3 separate regions of the Homo sapiens genome follow, and all the other regions are linked to region 3. The links are contacts of gene promoters, found by promoter capture Hi-C in human tissues and cell types (Jung and others, 2019). All regions are on one chromosome and are shown on one strand. The core of a region is centred on a gene start or on the middle of the fragment in contact, and the rest is flanking DNA. Distances in the headings are between cores, read along the strand shown.

Region 1 (5,046 bases), core at 704-3,203, 450 kb before region 3:
TTCTGTGACCTTTGGAGCTGTGCTTCCTCCACTCCTGCCGGTGGCTGAGCCCTGGGTGGCTGCCCTCTGCAGCCCTGGTCGGCAGAGGCAATGCAGAGGCTGGCTGTTTTGTGACGGTCCTAGGTTCCCCACTCTCCAGCAGCTTTCAGGGGATGTTAAACATTCATTTACCCAAAAGATTCTAAAATTCCCCCTTGGCCCCTGATAAGCAAGAAACTTCCATGCCTCTCAAGTTGTTGACTGTGGAAAACGTTTGCAGACCTTTGAAAATGTGGTTTTTAAGAGAGAAGAATATGAAAAGAGGTGGTGGGCCTTAAACACTCATCCGCTTGACAAGAAACTCTCAAATCAGTACCAGTAACCAGTCATTATAAATCTGAATACTACTACTTCTTGTCTTTCTGGTTAGAGAAATATACAAACAGCTCAAGAAAATGGTAAATTATAAAGATGGAAGTGACTATTGAAGAGACTTGGTGAGCGTGTTGGAGTTGAAGGATCTGGTGTAGTTGGGGAGCTTGTGTGGGGTTTCAGGATTGACCTAGAAAGGTTGGGTGTGGATTGTAGGGGAAGAAAAACAGCTTTACAGGTGGGAGAACTGCCTTGAGTGCTACGTGCAGGGATGGGCATCTCCATGAAGGCACCACCTGTTGGGCTGGGGGGCTGTTGGGGCAGATGTAGCGTGTAAGGTGGGCTGGCCTTTGGGGGAATCTTTGTCAGGCCACAGCTGTTGGGGTCCACCTGATGACTATGAGGGCCCCTGTGAGCCAGGAGCAAGTGGGAGCCCTGTCCCGGTCCCTCTCCCGGCTTTCCTGGTGGTCCATCTCAAAGCCCCCGCCCCTGACTCTCGTGTGTAGTGGTGTCCAGGCCACTCAAGACTTAGGGCTTCTGAGGAGGCGGCGTCAGGGTCAGCTCTTAGTTCAGTGTCATAAGTAACAATATAAATAACTGCCGCTTACAGAGCCCTGGGGTATGACAAACTGCCACATACATTACCCCTGTGATCCTCACAGCAACCCTGCGAGTGCCCCTGTGAGGAAATTGAGGCTCGGGTCTTCGTTCCCCAGGCAGGGCTGCCACACACTCGAGAATTCCCTGTGGGTCAGGCTGCCTCCAGGGCCCCTACTCATCCTCTCTGTGCCTCAGGGTTTGTCCGGGTTTAATTACCTGAGTACAGTCCCAGCATCACCCTCAGAGCCTCCTAAACGCACAGATTTCCTGACCTAGCAGCTGCGATGTGCCTGGGCATGGATTGGCTTGACGCTGAATCCTGTGGGTTTCTTTACCTTTCAAGATAGATCAGAACATCACACCACATCAAAACTAAACTTTATAGTGCCTTCTGAAGCGCCCGTGTGCTTGAGCTCATGATATAAATGGCATCAACGAAACTGAAAGTAGTAGTGATTCTGTTGACCCACAAAACAGTTGAGTGATTATTTATAGCCTGCATTTCCCAGAATATTGTAAGCAAAACCAAAGCAAAATGTATTTGCTTACTTGAAATTGAACCAGAGGCTGTGAATTAGAAAGTGAGTCTTATTCTGTTATGTCATTTATAGAATGACACGGCACACCAGGTCACATTTAAGTTAGTTAAATGGAATGTTTAGACTTACCTTTGATCACTGCTGATTAATTGTATTTTTCTCGATGATGATGATAAAACCAGGGCTGGGAGGATAGTGGTGTTATAAGTGCAACCCTGTCCCTTCTATCTGCTGCTCCAGCTGTGGCCTAGCCTCAGGACTCAAGGCAAGCGTCTGCCCAAGCTGGTAGACAGGTGAGTCTGACTCCCAGCAGAGATCTTAGTGCGAGCTCTTTTCACCTGGACTGGGCCAGAAAAGAAACCTGAAAGCAGAGGCTTCCCGGAGAAGCTTAAACTGCAGGGGTCCCTGGAGCCAGGGGGATGGCAGCATTGATTTGAATGTGAGTGTGCCCACCCCTCTCTGGACACACAGGACTTAAAAGGAGAAAACTGGCTAGGCGCAGTGGCTCACGCCTGTAATCCCAGCACTTTGGGAGGCCGAGGTGGGCGGATCACCTGAGGTCAGGAGTTCAAGACCAAACTGGCCAACATAGTGAAACCCTATCTATACTAAAAATACAAAAAAAATTAACCAGGCATGGTGACAGGCGCCTGTAATCCCAGCTACTGGGGAGGCTGAGGCAGGAGAATAGCTTGAATCCGGGAGGCGAAGTTTGCAGTGAGCCGAGAGCGCACCATTGCCCTCCAGCCTGGGCGACAAAGTGAAACTCCATCTAAAAAAAAATGAAATAAAATAATCCTCAGTGGCAGACAGAAAACAAAGTCTGAAAAGCTGGAAGTATGTACTATGGGTGGGAAACTTGTTATTTGGAAAGTTCCAATTCTCCCAGTGTTAATATTTAAATAAAATGCAACTCCAGTGAAAATCTTAGCAGGGTTTTTTTTAATTGAATAAAATAATCTTAAAGTTTGTATGAAAGAATGTCCAGGAATTATCAAGAAAAGTGTAAAGATAACATTTTATGATATGAAAATATGCAAAAGATTAACATATTTTAATACCATAATCAAATTATGATATTACATGAGAATAGACAAAAAAGTCAGTAGAATAGATTAGAAAATATGGAATATTTGACAGAGCTTATTTAATAAATTTAATAAATGGTGTCGGCACAACTGGTTATTCGTCAGGAAGAAATAAATGTTGAATCCCTATTTTATAAAAACAAATGGCCCGGGCACTGTGGCTCACACCTGTAATCCCAGCACTTTGGGAGGCCGAGGCAGGTGGATTACCTGAGGTCAGCAGTTCGAGACCAGCCTGACCATCTCTACTAAATGTACAAAAGTGAGCTGGGCATGGTGGCGGGCACCTGTAATCCCAGCTACTTGGGAGACTGACGCATGAGAATCGCTTGAACCTGGGAGGCGAATGTTGCAGTGAGCCGAGACCACACCACCGCACTCCAGCCTGGGTGACATGAGTGAGACTCCATCTCAAAAAAGTAAAATAAAATAAATGGATTAAAGACATGAATGTAAAATACAAAAAGTACAAATCCAAGAAGAAAATTATGTTTATCGTAGGAGTGAGTGTGAAGTTAGGAAACCCAAAGAAACAACGGGCAAGGGGGATGAACAAGCAGTTTACAGACACGGAATTCAGATCGCCAGGAAATATGTGAATGGTGTTCGAGTCTGCCGGTATTCCATATGCAAATTAAGGCAACACTGTGCTCAGTGGCTGGCACAGCATTGCCCAGGGCAGTAAGCGCTATTCACTGGTCGTGAGGGGAGAGGAGTTTTCATGCGTTCTTGATGGGATGTCAAGCGTTAGCGCCTTTTGGTGACACCCAGTGAAATAAAAAACACTACAGCCTTCAGACATACTTCTGGGAATTTCACCCTAAAAATAAAAGCACCTTACTTAGGAATATCTTCATAAGCATCTTTATGGCAGCTTTGTAGTGACCAAAAAAAGCAAAAAGGAAAAAAAAACAATGCTGGATATCAAGGGAACCTAATAAGTAGGTAAAAGTTTGAATAAATTATCACAAGTCCGTATTATGAAATGTGCAGGTCCCTAAAAGAATTCATCACAGGCAAACCAGTTGACTCAGAAACATTTCCAGGAGGTACTTTGAGTAAGAAGTTAACATGTGCATAAGGATGTATAGAATGATTCCATTTTTGAGAAGTAAACAATGACCAAGAAGCTCCTCCATCTATTTCTGTATCCTTCATGAGTGGAGCATTTGCGTGTCTGTCCCTGAGTGTGTATAATGCATTTCACGTGGCACCTGTGACTCATCGCAGGAGGCTGGCCGTGGGCAGGTGCTGTTGTCTGTGGGGGAGAGCCTGGCTGGTCGCTCCTACTTTTGGTACCAAAACTGTAATTGCTCTTCCAGGACTTAGATAATGCTTTGGAGAATTCTTGTAGCCTTATAAAAGGAATGTGAAGGACTGGTTAGAATCAGTGCACCCACACAGCCTAATGAGCCACGTAAAGTTGACTAGACAGATCGTCAAATGCAGATGATACACACACACACACACACACACACACACACACACACACACACACACACACACACACACACCCCCTCTGTGTTGGCTGAAGGTGGAGTGAAACTGGCCTAACCCCACTGTCCTCCAGGGGGATTCAGTGAGGCCTGAATCCCCTGCTCCTGTCCTGTCCTCTCACTGTTGCCTTTCAGTGGCTCCTGCACCCTCCAGACTGCCTGATAATCTCCTCTATTGGAGGCCACGTACCTGCTGCAGAGAATGTGTCGCGTGGCTGTAGTCTTAGGCAACTTAGGTGGGGCTGAGAACCCAGGGCCACTTCTGTCTGCGAAGTGGCTCAAATTCAGCATGGAAAGAACGGAGCCTTCATGGAATGCAGGCGAATACAGTGAATGTTTGTGCCTAAATGACTGCGTGGGGCTCTGCAGGTGTAGGATGAGGGAGGAGTCCAGTCTTTTCTAGTGTCATGAAATTCCCACCGCAGCTGCCTGCTGCTCCCCGGACGGGATTTCCTCTCGCTGCCAGTGGGAGGGGTGGGGAGGGCTGGATGTGGCGAGGGAGTCTGTAGACAGAAGACATTGCCAGCTCCCAGCCCCACCGCCTTCCCCGCACACTCGTCGCGCTGTGACTCCCGGCCCCGCCGCCTTCCCCGCACACTCGTCGCGCTGTGACTCCTGGCGGTTTTCTGTGTTCTTCCAGAAGATTGGCACCTTTCTTCTCCCACCCCCACCCTCCACCCGCGATGGCATCTGCTGTTTATTTTTGTTGCTGTTCTGTGTGTTGCATGGACGCTTTAGCAGCCGTGACGCCCGCGTCTTCACAGGGCCCACTCAGCCTCCCGCCTCACATAAGTGTGGAGTTCAGTTGCTGCAGAGGCTTTTGCCTGATCAGTTTTTAATATCTACCTGATGTCACAGGTTGATTTTGTATGTAACTTGTTGAAAGGCACTTGTGTAAAAAGGTGTAAAGAAAGCTGCTTTTATGAAAGCAGACGTTTCCCAAAGGACTTGACCCCCTCCCCAAGTATTTCC
Region 2 (4,867 bases), core at 2,368-4,867, 320 kb before region 3:
GCCTCGTCCCCCCAAGGGTCCCCAGCCTCATCCCCACCCAAGGTCCCCAGCCTCAACCCCACCCAGGGTCCCCAGCCTCGACCCCAGCCAGGGTCTCCAGCCTCGTCCCCACCCAGGGTCCCCAGCCTCGACCCCACCCAGGGTGGCCAGCCTCGACCCTACCCAGGGTCCCCAGCCTCATCCCCACCCAGGCTCCCCAGCCTCGACCCCACCCGGGGTCCCCAGCCTGGCCTGCGGCCTGCCTGGCAGAGGCAGGAGGTTCCCTTCGTTTTTATCTTGATTCTGAGGAACGAACATTGGCTGCATTCCCGACAGCCGGGCCAGGAGCAGGGATGTAGGTTTAGGATACCAGGAGACCCTGGGGCTGATGTGGGGGGCACAGAGCAGGCGCCACTTCTGGAACCTTCCCCACCAAGGCTGTTCAGGACCAACGAGCATGACTGCAGGCAGAGCCAGGGGAAGGAAGGCAGAGAATAGGCATAATGCCCACCTAGGAAATAGGCACAAATGAAGACCCCACAACCTCCAACTTGGATGCGGAGTCAACCATTCCTCACTACCTGCACTGGTGAGGTCTGTGTGTCCACCTGGCCAGCCCGGGATGCCCAATAGCTGGGGATGCGCTGTTTCTGGGGGAGTCTGTGAGGTGCCTCTGGCTGAGACCAGCGTTTGCAGTGGTGGACTGTGGCGAGCAGATGCCTCCCTGTGTGCATGGGATCATGCAACCCCTTGAAGGGCTGAAGAGAACAAGAAGGCAGAGGAAGGAGGAACTTGCCTCTTTCCTCCCACCTGCCTGCTTGGGCTGGGACACTGGCCTTCTCCTGCCCTGGGACTGGGTCCCCACCATCAGCTCCCGGGTGCTGCCCTCAGGCTTGCACTGGAGCCACACCACCAGCTTTCCCGGGGCTCCGGCTTGCAGGCGGTAGCTGGCAGGACTTCTCAGCCTCCGTCCTCATGTGAGCCAACTCCTCACTATTGGTCTGCTTCTCTGAAGGACCCCAACTCATGGGTCCACCTGACCGTGGTCCAAGTCCCATCACACTTTGCAAAGCTGACTGCAGCTGCTGCTCACTGGCCTCCCTGCCTGGCCCCTTCCATGCACCCTCCTCCAGCATCCAAGAGGATCCTGTGAAAACCCACGTCAGACCATGGCCCTCTGCACCGCCTCCTGCAAGGCATGCAGTGGAGGAAGAGTGACCTCAAGTCACTCGTGTGACCACGCGGGGTTGCCCCCGTCACCTCTCTGACCTCACAGCCCACTACGGTCCCCCACAGCCCACTCCCTCCCTCCGCTCTGGCCACGTGGCCTCCTGCATAAGGCTGCTTCTGTGCCAGAACGTCCTTCCCTCTGACACACACAGGCTCCTTGCTCCTAACACCTGTAAGATCCCTCCTCCTATGTGACCTTTTGCCTGGCCACTTTCTCTAAAATTCCAACTCCCTCACACTGCACATTCCCTCACACTGCACATTCTATATCCCCTTCCCCGCAGGATTTTTCTTTTTTAGAGATGGGGTCTCACTATGGATTTTTCTTCTTTGCCTTAATTTTTATCCAACACCCTACACATTCTATTTATTTATACCATCGTGTCTGTCTTCCCCAGAGAATGCCAGCTTCTTCAGGCCAGGGATCTCTGCTTATTCTGTTCACTACTGAATTCCCAGTGCCCAGAACAGCACCCAACACGCAGTAATGAGATTGTTGACGAATGGAAGACCGCACTGCTCCATGGGGATCTGGGAGAGGAAAGGGTTCCTCTCTAGGCAGCTGCTGAGGCCTCATCGATCCAGTATCTACACAGGGGTCCAGTCCAGCTCCTAAAAGTGCAAAGTAATTATAGATGCGATTATTCTCCTGAGCACAGAATCAGCCAGGCAGTGTGAGGGGCCAGCCTGCACTGGTGCTGGACGCACACAGAGTCTCAGAGCCACACCCTCCACCCTCCTGGGGAACTGCCCTGCAGAACCACCCCCCATGGGCGGGCACTCGTCCTTCTGGGGCTCTTGGAGGAAATGGTTACAGAAGACTAGGCCAGATGACAATAAGGGATGGAGAATAACTAAGTGCCAAGCCAATGAGCCATCTGCTGGTAAGAACTCCATGCCAGGCAGCACAGGCGGTCCCAACAGCACGATCTCTGGATTAGCCCAAATAGCATCGGAACATTTGACAACAAATTGAACTACTAGTAATAGTGCTCACTTCAATGAGCCGGGGACACAGTATCCCCATGGCGAGTCAGCTGGCCCGCTGTAACCACCCAGCTGGGTCTCCCCACCCCAAAGGCCTCCAGGCTGTCCCCTTCTCATCCTGTCACTTGAAAAGCACAACTCATGGTGCCAAAGCTCTGACACGGACTCCACTGGAGCTGTGGGCAGGGGGTGCCAAGGTACCGAGTTCCAAGCCGTTGTTATTTGAGAGCGTGCCCCCCGCCATGAGAGCAGGTGGGGGGACATAAAGTGACACAGGATGGACTGGCCAAAGGCTGAGGACGATCACTTACCTCACAGGATGATGCCACCCCCACGGACAGGCAAGGAGCTCTCACCTTCCCCAGGACCCCAGCTGCCACCAGAGCTCCAGATGGCCCTGGGGGTGTCTGTAAAGCCTGTGACCGTCCACCAGGTGGAGACCAGGCTGGCCAGGGGAGGGAGAGGAAGTGACCACTGGCCCTGGCACTGGCTGGCCGGCTCCAGCAGGCCCGAAGGGGAGGGAGGAGCCTGGGTGCACCAGACTCTCTCAATAAGCAGCACCCAGACACTTAACAGATGGAAAGCGGTGGCTTGGAACTCACTTCCAACGAAACAATAGCACATGCTCCGGCTGGCTTTGACACTTGCTTCCAAAGGCGACCTGCACCCAGGGCCAGGACCACGGCATCTGAGCCTCCTCCCCCAGCCGCCAACCCCATTCCCAATGGAGGAGCCCAGGAGAACTGGGGGCGGCCAAGGCAGCCCTTCCCTGCTCCGCAGATCCAGAGGATGCCCACAGCCCCCTTCCCCTCCCGCCTTTCCCACACTCCCTGTAGCAATTCACACAAGCGGGGAGGGGACGAAACTGCTGAATCCAGCAGATAGCTTGTGGCGGGGTAATCCTCGGTCCGGCCCCATACAGGACAGAAATAAAATCGCCATTTCAGCTCCGGGCGCAGCTGGAGGAGGCTGACGCCCCCTAGTTAGGGGAAGGCTGTGGGTGACCGAGAAGGAACTTTTCCCGTTTTCTATTCAAATGAAATGAGGGTGGCGGTCGCAGCAGGGAGAGAGGAGCGAGGGGAGTTTTCCCGGCGGGGCTGGGGGGTCCACAGCGGCGCGGCCACGCTCAGCCCAGCGCTGGCTTAGGAGGGACGGGCTGCGTGGGGAGGCGACGGCTCCGGGCCGAAGGGGTCGCTCAGGGCTCTGCACAGCTGTCCAGGGGGCATCGGGAGATAGGCAGCCGACCGGGGGCTGGAGTCAAGGGAAGAAGAAAGAGGGGGAAGGGAGGTGCAGGGAGTGAAGAGGAGGGGAGAGAGGAGAGACGGGGGAGGGAGGGGGGAGGGGGGAGGGGGAGGGGCGGGCGGGCGGCCGGGAGGAGGAGCGCGCGAGCCGGAGTCGGAGCCCGAGCCCGAGCGCGAGCCGAGCGGAGGAGACCCTGCGGCGCGCGGCGGCGGCTCCCGGGCGTCCCGGGCCCGGTGGCGGCGCGGCTGTGGTTGGCTGAGCGCCGCGGGCCGCCCCCCGCCCGCCCCCTCCCCTGCTCCCCTCCCCCGCCTCCCGCGGCGGCTGGCGTCGGGAAAGTACAGTAAAAAGTCCGAGTGCAGCCGCCGGGCGCAGGATGGGATCCGGCTCCTCCAGCTACCGGCCCAAGGCCATCTACCTGGACATCGATGGACGCATTCAGAAGGTAGCCCCTCCCCCACCCAGACACCCCCTCCTCCCCCCGGGTGACAGCGCCGGGGCCGGGCGCGGCGGGGCGGGACTGTCCGTGCGTCTGCCGGTCCAGGCTGCGGCCTCCGTGCGCTCCGCCAGCTCTGGTCGGGGGCGGGGGTCCCCACGCGCCGGCTCCCCGGGGAAAGGGGCGACTCGCCCTGGGGGGTGGGGGGTGGGGGGGCGGGCTAGTGTTTCCGTTTCACAGGCAGAGCTTTTCTTTTTGAAAATCTGATTAGGCTGAGTTTTTACATTCAAGGGCTGGCACATGAAGCCTTTAATTTCCGGTGGATCGGCCCGCCGGGCAGCCCCGGGGTCGTGGTCCGCGGAGGGGGCGAGCAGCCGCCGCTTCCTGTCGCGCGGGGGCAGGTGCGGGGGGCGCCGGCGGGGACACTGCTCCCCCGCAGGTGAGTAGCTCCGACTGCAGAGGGGGACTCGGGCCGCTGCACCTCCGGGGCCCCGCGGAGAGCCTGGGGGGCAGCGGGTCCGGCTCTCCCCTGCTGTGCGGAGATAGGAAGTCCCTCGAATGTCCAGCGTTCCTAGCGGACTTGAGTTACACGGGAGAGGGGTTCAGAATAGACCCCCTTTGTTCGTGGCCCCCTCTGACGGGCAGGGAGGGACAATGAGCGCGCCGGCTTGGAAGGGGCTCTCATGAGCTCCCCCTAAAGTCCCCAGGGAAAAGCCATTGTGAGGAAATCCCTCAAACCTCAGCTGGGCGTTTCAGGAAGCCCTTGCAGCTGCTTCTCACCTTTCTGCCCACGGAGTACTCCACTGAAGGAGGCCAGGGAGAGATGCCCCAGCCAGGCACAGAGCAGGTGCCGGCCAGGCTTGAGTCTTTCCTGTTCCCAGAGGTGCATTTGGCCAGTTTAATCAGTAGATTTAAGCCAACAAGCCTCCCTCACCCTGTGCCCGGCTTGATCCCCGTGAAATGGAAAGTACAGCCCTCTCCCACCGTAGCCCGCTT
Region 3 (4,330 bases), core at 1,615-4,114:
ACTTGCCCTGAGTTCTTTCTTGCTCAAGATCCAAGAATCCCCTCTTGGGGTCTGGATCAAGACCCCCTTTCTGGCAACACATCCCGGCCTTTCCCCCTTTTCTGAAGACAGACTTCAGAAATGAAGAAAAAGAAGGGTGGCCGCTCATGGTGGGTGAAACGGCAAAGCAGCTGGCAGAGAAGGCACCTAGCTGATGACCCCAGAGTCTTCTGGGCCCAGAGTGGGATGGCAGGGCCTGGGCTTCTGTCTGCCCTGGACTTGCTGCAGCTGCTTCCTGGGCTCTGGGTGACCATGCGCTCAGGTCCTCCTGTGGAACTCCTGCTGTCTCACAGGCCAGATGCAAATAAATGAAAGCTTCAGACCGGGGGCAGGTGTAGGTGTGGCCAGTGAGCCCCGGGCTGCTTCCAGGGGCCTGAACAGCATGTCACAGGGCCCCTGCCCCTGCTGAGAAGGGCCCAGGCTTGGGGTAAGGTTCTGCTGTCACTGCCTTGAAATTCTTCACTGTAATTTCTGAGCCAGGGACTTTGTCTTACTGGAATGGGGTCTCAATCCAGATCCCAAGAGAGGGTTCTTGGAGTTTACACAAGAAAGAATTCAGGGAGAATCCACAGAGTAAAGTGAAAGTGAGTTTGTTAGAGAAGTAAATAAACCAAAGAATGGCTACTCCATAGGCAGAGCAGCCCCAAGGGCTGCTGGTTGGCTATTTTTATGGTCCTTTTTTTTTTCCCTAGAATCCGTTCCTGAATTATATTGGTTATTTCTTGATCACGTGCTAAACAAGGGGTGGATTATTCATGAGTTTTCTGGGAAAGTGGTGGGGAATTCCCAGAACTTAGGCTTCCTCTTCCATTTATTTATTTATTTATTGGAGATGGAGTCTTGCTCGTTGCCCAGGCTGGAGTGCAATGGCGTGATCTCGGCTCACTGCAACCTTTGCTTCCCAGGTTCAAGCGATTCTCCTGCCTCAGCCTCCCAAGTAGCTGGGACTACAGGTGTATGCCACCACGCCTGCTTAATTTTTTGGTATTTTTAGTAGAGATGGGGTTTCACCATATTGGCCATGCTGGTCTCAACTCCTGACCTCAAGTAATCTGCCCGCCTTGGCCTCCCCAAAGTGCTGGGATTACTGGCGTGAGCCACTGCGCCCGACCCCTTTTAGGCAATGTAGGGTATCTTCCAAACGTTGCCATGGCATTTGAAAACTGTCATGGCGCTGGCGAGAGTGTGTTTTACCAAGCTCATATATTATAATTAGTGTATAATCAGCAGTGAGGAAGGCCACAGGTCACTTTCCCCGCCATCTTGGTTTTGGTGGGATTTGGCCGGCTTCTTTACTGCATCCTGTTTTATCAGCAGGATCCTTGTGACCTGTGTCTTGTTCCGACCTCCTATCTCATCCGATTACTAAGAACGCCTTAACTCCTGGGGGGTGCGGCCCAGCAGGTCTCAGCTTCAGTTTACCCAGCCCATGTGGAGTCTCTCTGTTCCAACACCTATTGACACTTGCATCTGGATCTTGCACTAGGCTCTGCAGATTATGCTCAGTCTTGAATACTGAGCTTTTTTTGTCCCCTTGAACTTCCCTCCTTGGGCAAGTATCTCAGGGCCTCCCTCTTGCCCACCCTGCTGCTTCCCATCTTTCTGAAAGAGGCGGCTCTGCAGCTGCACAGCACTTGGCCAAGACCTCCTGGCGGTGTGGAGCTCTGAAGACACAGGAGGGATGTCCTCCGAGCTGTTCATGCCTAGACCTACCCCCAGGCTCCCTCTAGCAATCAGCTCCAGTCCTGGGCCTGTCTGCCTTCCGGGAGGAGTGGGGGCCCACAGAGCTGCCCTTCCCGCGCTGTGTATGGACTCAAGGCACTGATGGCCTTCGGTGGGCCACTGCATAAATGGATGTTTCTGCAGTATTGAAGGCCAGTCAGGCAAACCGTGTGCTTTCCTACGCAGTGGGGAATGTGTCGCCCTTTCCTTACATCTTGGAGACCAAAGCCACCATCTGCACTTGTGGGTACATTGTGGCAGTGGTCGGTTAGGGTGGTCTTTCAAAGCAGTTTGAAATGCAGACACTTGTGGGCGTCCCCTAAGGCAGGTGCCCTTTACCTGGAGGCCGCATTGGTCACCTAGACCCGCAAGGCTCACCTGGGCCGGAAGGTGTGGTCAAGCGAGGCCAAGTAGCCCAGAGGCCACCCCTAAGCACCTGTGGACATCATGAGTCCTTGCTGGGGTCCTCACAGAGGGAAGACAGCCCCCAGGGTAAAGCCTCAGGTGCTAAGCACTCGCGCTGCCGCAGGGGGGGAGGCACGTGAGCATCCACTGTGCCGCCCAGGACGGGCCCACCCGGGCTCCAGAGCCTGGGGAGGAAGGCTGCGAGGCTCCCACGGGCTTACATTCAAACCGGGCACACACAGAACGGAGGCCTTCGGCTACGGGACGCCCGGCGGTGGGGTTACGGATGGTACAGCCCTCCCTCCCCGCCTGCTCGAGGCAAATGGTTTCGCCCGGCTACACACACCTCTCCTGGGCGGCAACCGAGGGCGCGGAGGGGGCAAGACGTGCGCTGAGGCCACGCCCCTACTGCATAGTCATAAGGCGGGAGGCTCTGCCTTCGGGGCGGGGCAGACAGCTCCTCGCGCTCGGGCGCGGCCGGTTGGGGGCACGGCCTAGCTCCGGGTGCGGGCGGGGCTGGAGGCGGGGCCGGCCACCGCCCGGTTCCCGCCCTCGCTCTCCTCCCCCAGCGATCAGGCCCCGCCCCGCGCCCGCCGCCGCGCAGGGAGGGGCGGGGCCCGTCTCCGGCAGGCCCCGCCCCCTCTCTGAATATTGATGCGGCGCGCGTCGGCGTCGCCCTCCTCCCATTGAGCGAGGCTGTGTCGCGTGGCCCAGCGTCGGCGTGACGGTTGGACGCGGGCGCGGCACTGCGGGTCCCGATTGCTGCAGCCGCTTGTCAGTGTGATGAAGATTGGCACCCAGGTAAGCTGTCACTCAACCGCTCCGCCGCCGCCGCCGCCGCTCTCGCCGCCGCCGTCCCTATCAATCACACCGGCCCGCGGCCGCCGCCCGCCGCCGCCGCTGCCGCCCGGGTCTGGAGGGCCGGCGCTGCCCTCGAGGGCCCGCATTTGACCCGCCGCCCGGGGCAGGGGGCGGGGAGGGGGCGCGGGTGGGGGAGGGGAGCGGGCACCCGCGGGGGAGGGGGCGCCTTCAGCCCAACCGGCGCGGGGGCGCGCCCAGTTGGTTTCTTAGTGTGGGTTGAGGGACGCGGAAATTTCTGGAAGGCGCCGCCGCCGCCGCGCTGGGCCTGATCGAAGCGCGCGCTCCTAACCGTCCCTTTCGGAGTGCGGCGCGCGCCCCGGCGCGGGGCGGGGGCGCGCGGAGCCCGGCGCGGGCGGGGCGGCGGGCGTGAGGGTCGGGGGCGCGCGGCGGGGCGGGGCCGGGGCGGGCGGCGCGCGTGGGGCCGGTCGGGTCCGCGGCCTCGCGGAGTCCTCAGGGCCGGCGGGGCTGCTCGGAGGGTGCGGGGCGCGCGGCGGCGCAGGCGGGAAGATGGCGGCCGCGACCCCGGCCCCGGCCTCGGCCGTGGCGAGCGGGTGGGTCGGGGTCCTGGGGGCGGTGGGCGTGATGGGGCTCGTGGCCCTCAGCCGGGCGCCGGCGCGGGAGCAGCCCAGGGCCGCTCGCTGACGGCAGTGTTTGGGGCCGGGTGCTGGGGAAGCGGTTCCGGCGTCCCGGGAATTGGTGGGAAGAGCCGCTTCTGTCACACGGGTCGTGGTAATGGATGACAGGAAGTGCCGGGCAGGGTCTGGGCGCCCTGTGGGTTTGCACCTTCCTTGTGAGGGAAATCGTGTCACTTAACGAAAAATGAAGAAACGCGGAGTCTGCTTTATGTCATCCTCGTGGCTCTCGAAATGCCTTATTTGGACAGTGGCTCTGCGACGGGACCAGTTAGGGCCTCCGTTCCGATGGCGGATTCCTGACGGGAGGCCCGAGGGTCCGGGAATGGCGGCGTCCTGAGGTCGGGCCCAGGGCAGGCCAGGCTGAGCGCCACGGCGGGGCCGCAGCCCTGGGGGGTGTTCCACCTGTGTGTGGGGTTCTCTTCCAACTCTACGAGAGTTTGCTTTTTAAAACAGTAGATGATTTTTCCTTAGGAAGTGGTTCCTCTTCAGGATGAAAGAAACCCCCAGCTTTAGTTAGGTCTACTTTCATGATTTTTCCTGGCATACTGAAAAATAGGCTTTCTCTAAACATAAGGAAGAATCGAGGTGAAATGTGAACCTCTGCCAGTATAGTTATTGGTGATGCTCTTGCATTTAGTCATAATTTGGAAGATGGCAGGCTGACCCCA

Evidence for each region. Contacts are between HindIII fragments. The study calls those that stand out against the background at their distance.
Region 1: a contact is called between a fragment that was not itself captured here and the fragment with the promoter of PKNOX1 in region 3, in 1 of the 25 tissues and cell types used here (hippocampus).
Region 2: a contact is called between the fragment with the promoter of PDE9A here and the fragment with the promoter of PKNOX1 in region 3, in 1 of the 25 tissues and cell types used here (spleen).

What each region holds. Positions count from the first base shown.
Region 1 is chr21:42,526,564-42,531,609 of GRCh38, forward strand. The region is part of intron 3 of SLC37A1 (solute carrier family 37 member 1); the gene reads left to right. LOC107987299 (a long non-coding RNA gene) reads right to left here. Exons shown (of 2, transcript XR_007067878.1): 2 at 1-2,262. Among named protein-coding and RNA genes, the nearest start is that of SLC37A1, 15 kb to the left of the region's middle. The HindIII fragment of the contact is 7,112 bases long and covers 1-5,046 here.
Region 2 is chr21:42,650,004-42,654,870 of GRCh38, forward strand. PDE9A (phosphodiesterase 9A) reads left to right here and starts at 3,618. Exons shown (of 20, transcript NM_002606.3): 1 at 3,618-3,880. The coding sequence starts at 3,812. LOC101928255 (a long non-coding RNA gene) reads right to left here and starts at 3,655. Exons shown (of 3, transcript XR_244322.4): 1 at 1,587-3,655; 2 at 561-737; 3 at 1-440. RefSeq lists an enhancer at 2,582-3,303. The HindIII fragment of the contact is 36,096 bases long and covers 1-4,867 here.
Region 3 is chr21:42,971,698-42,976,027 of GRCh38, forward strand. PKNOX1 (PBX/knotted 1 homeobox 1) reads left to right here and starts at 2,865. Exons shown (of 11, transcript NM_004571.5): 1 at 2,865-2,967. RefSeq lists enhancers at 1-541, 3,664-4,330 and silencers at 2,053-2,212, 2,523-2,912, 3,043-3,362, 3,503-3,702. The HindIII fragment of the contact is 23,812 bases long and covers 1-4,330 here.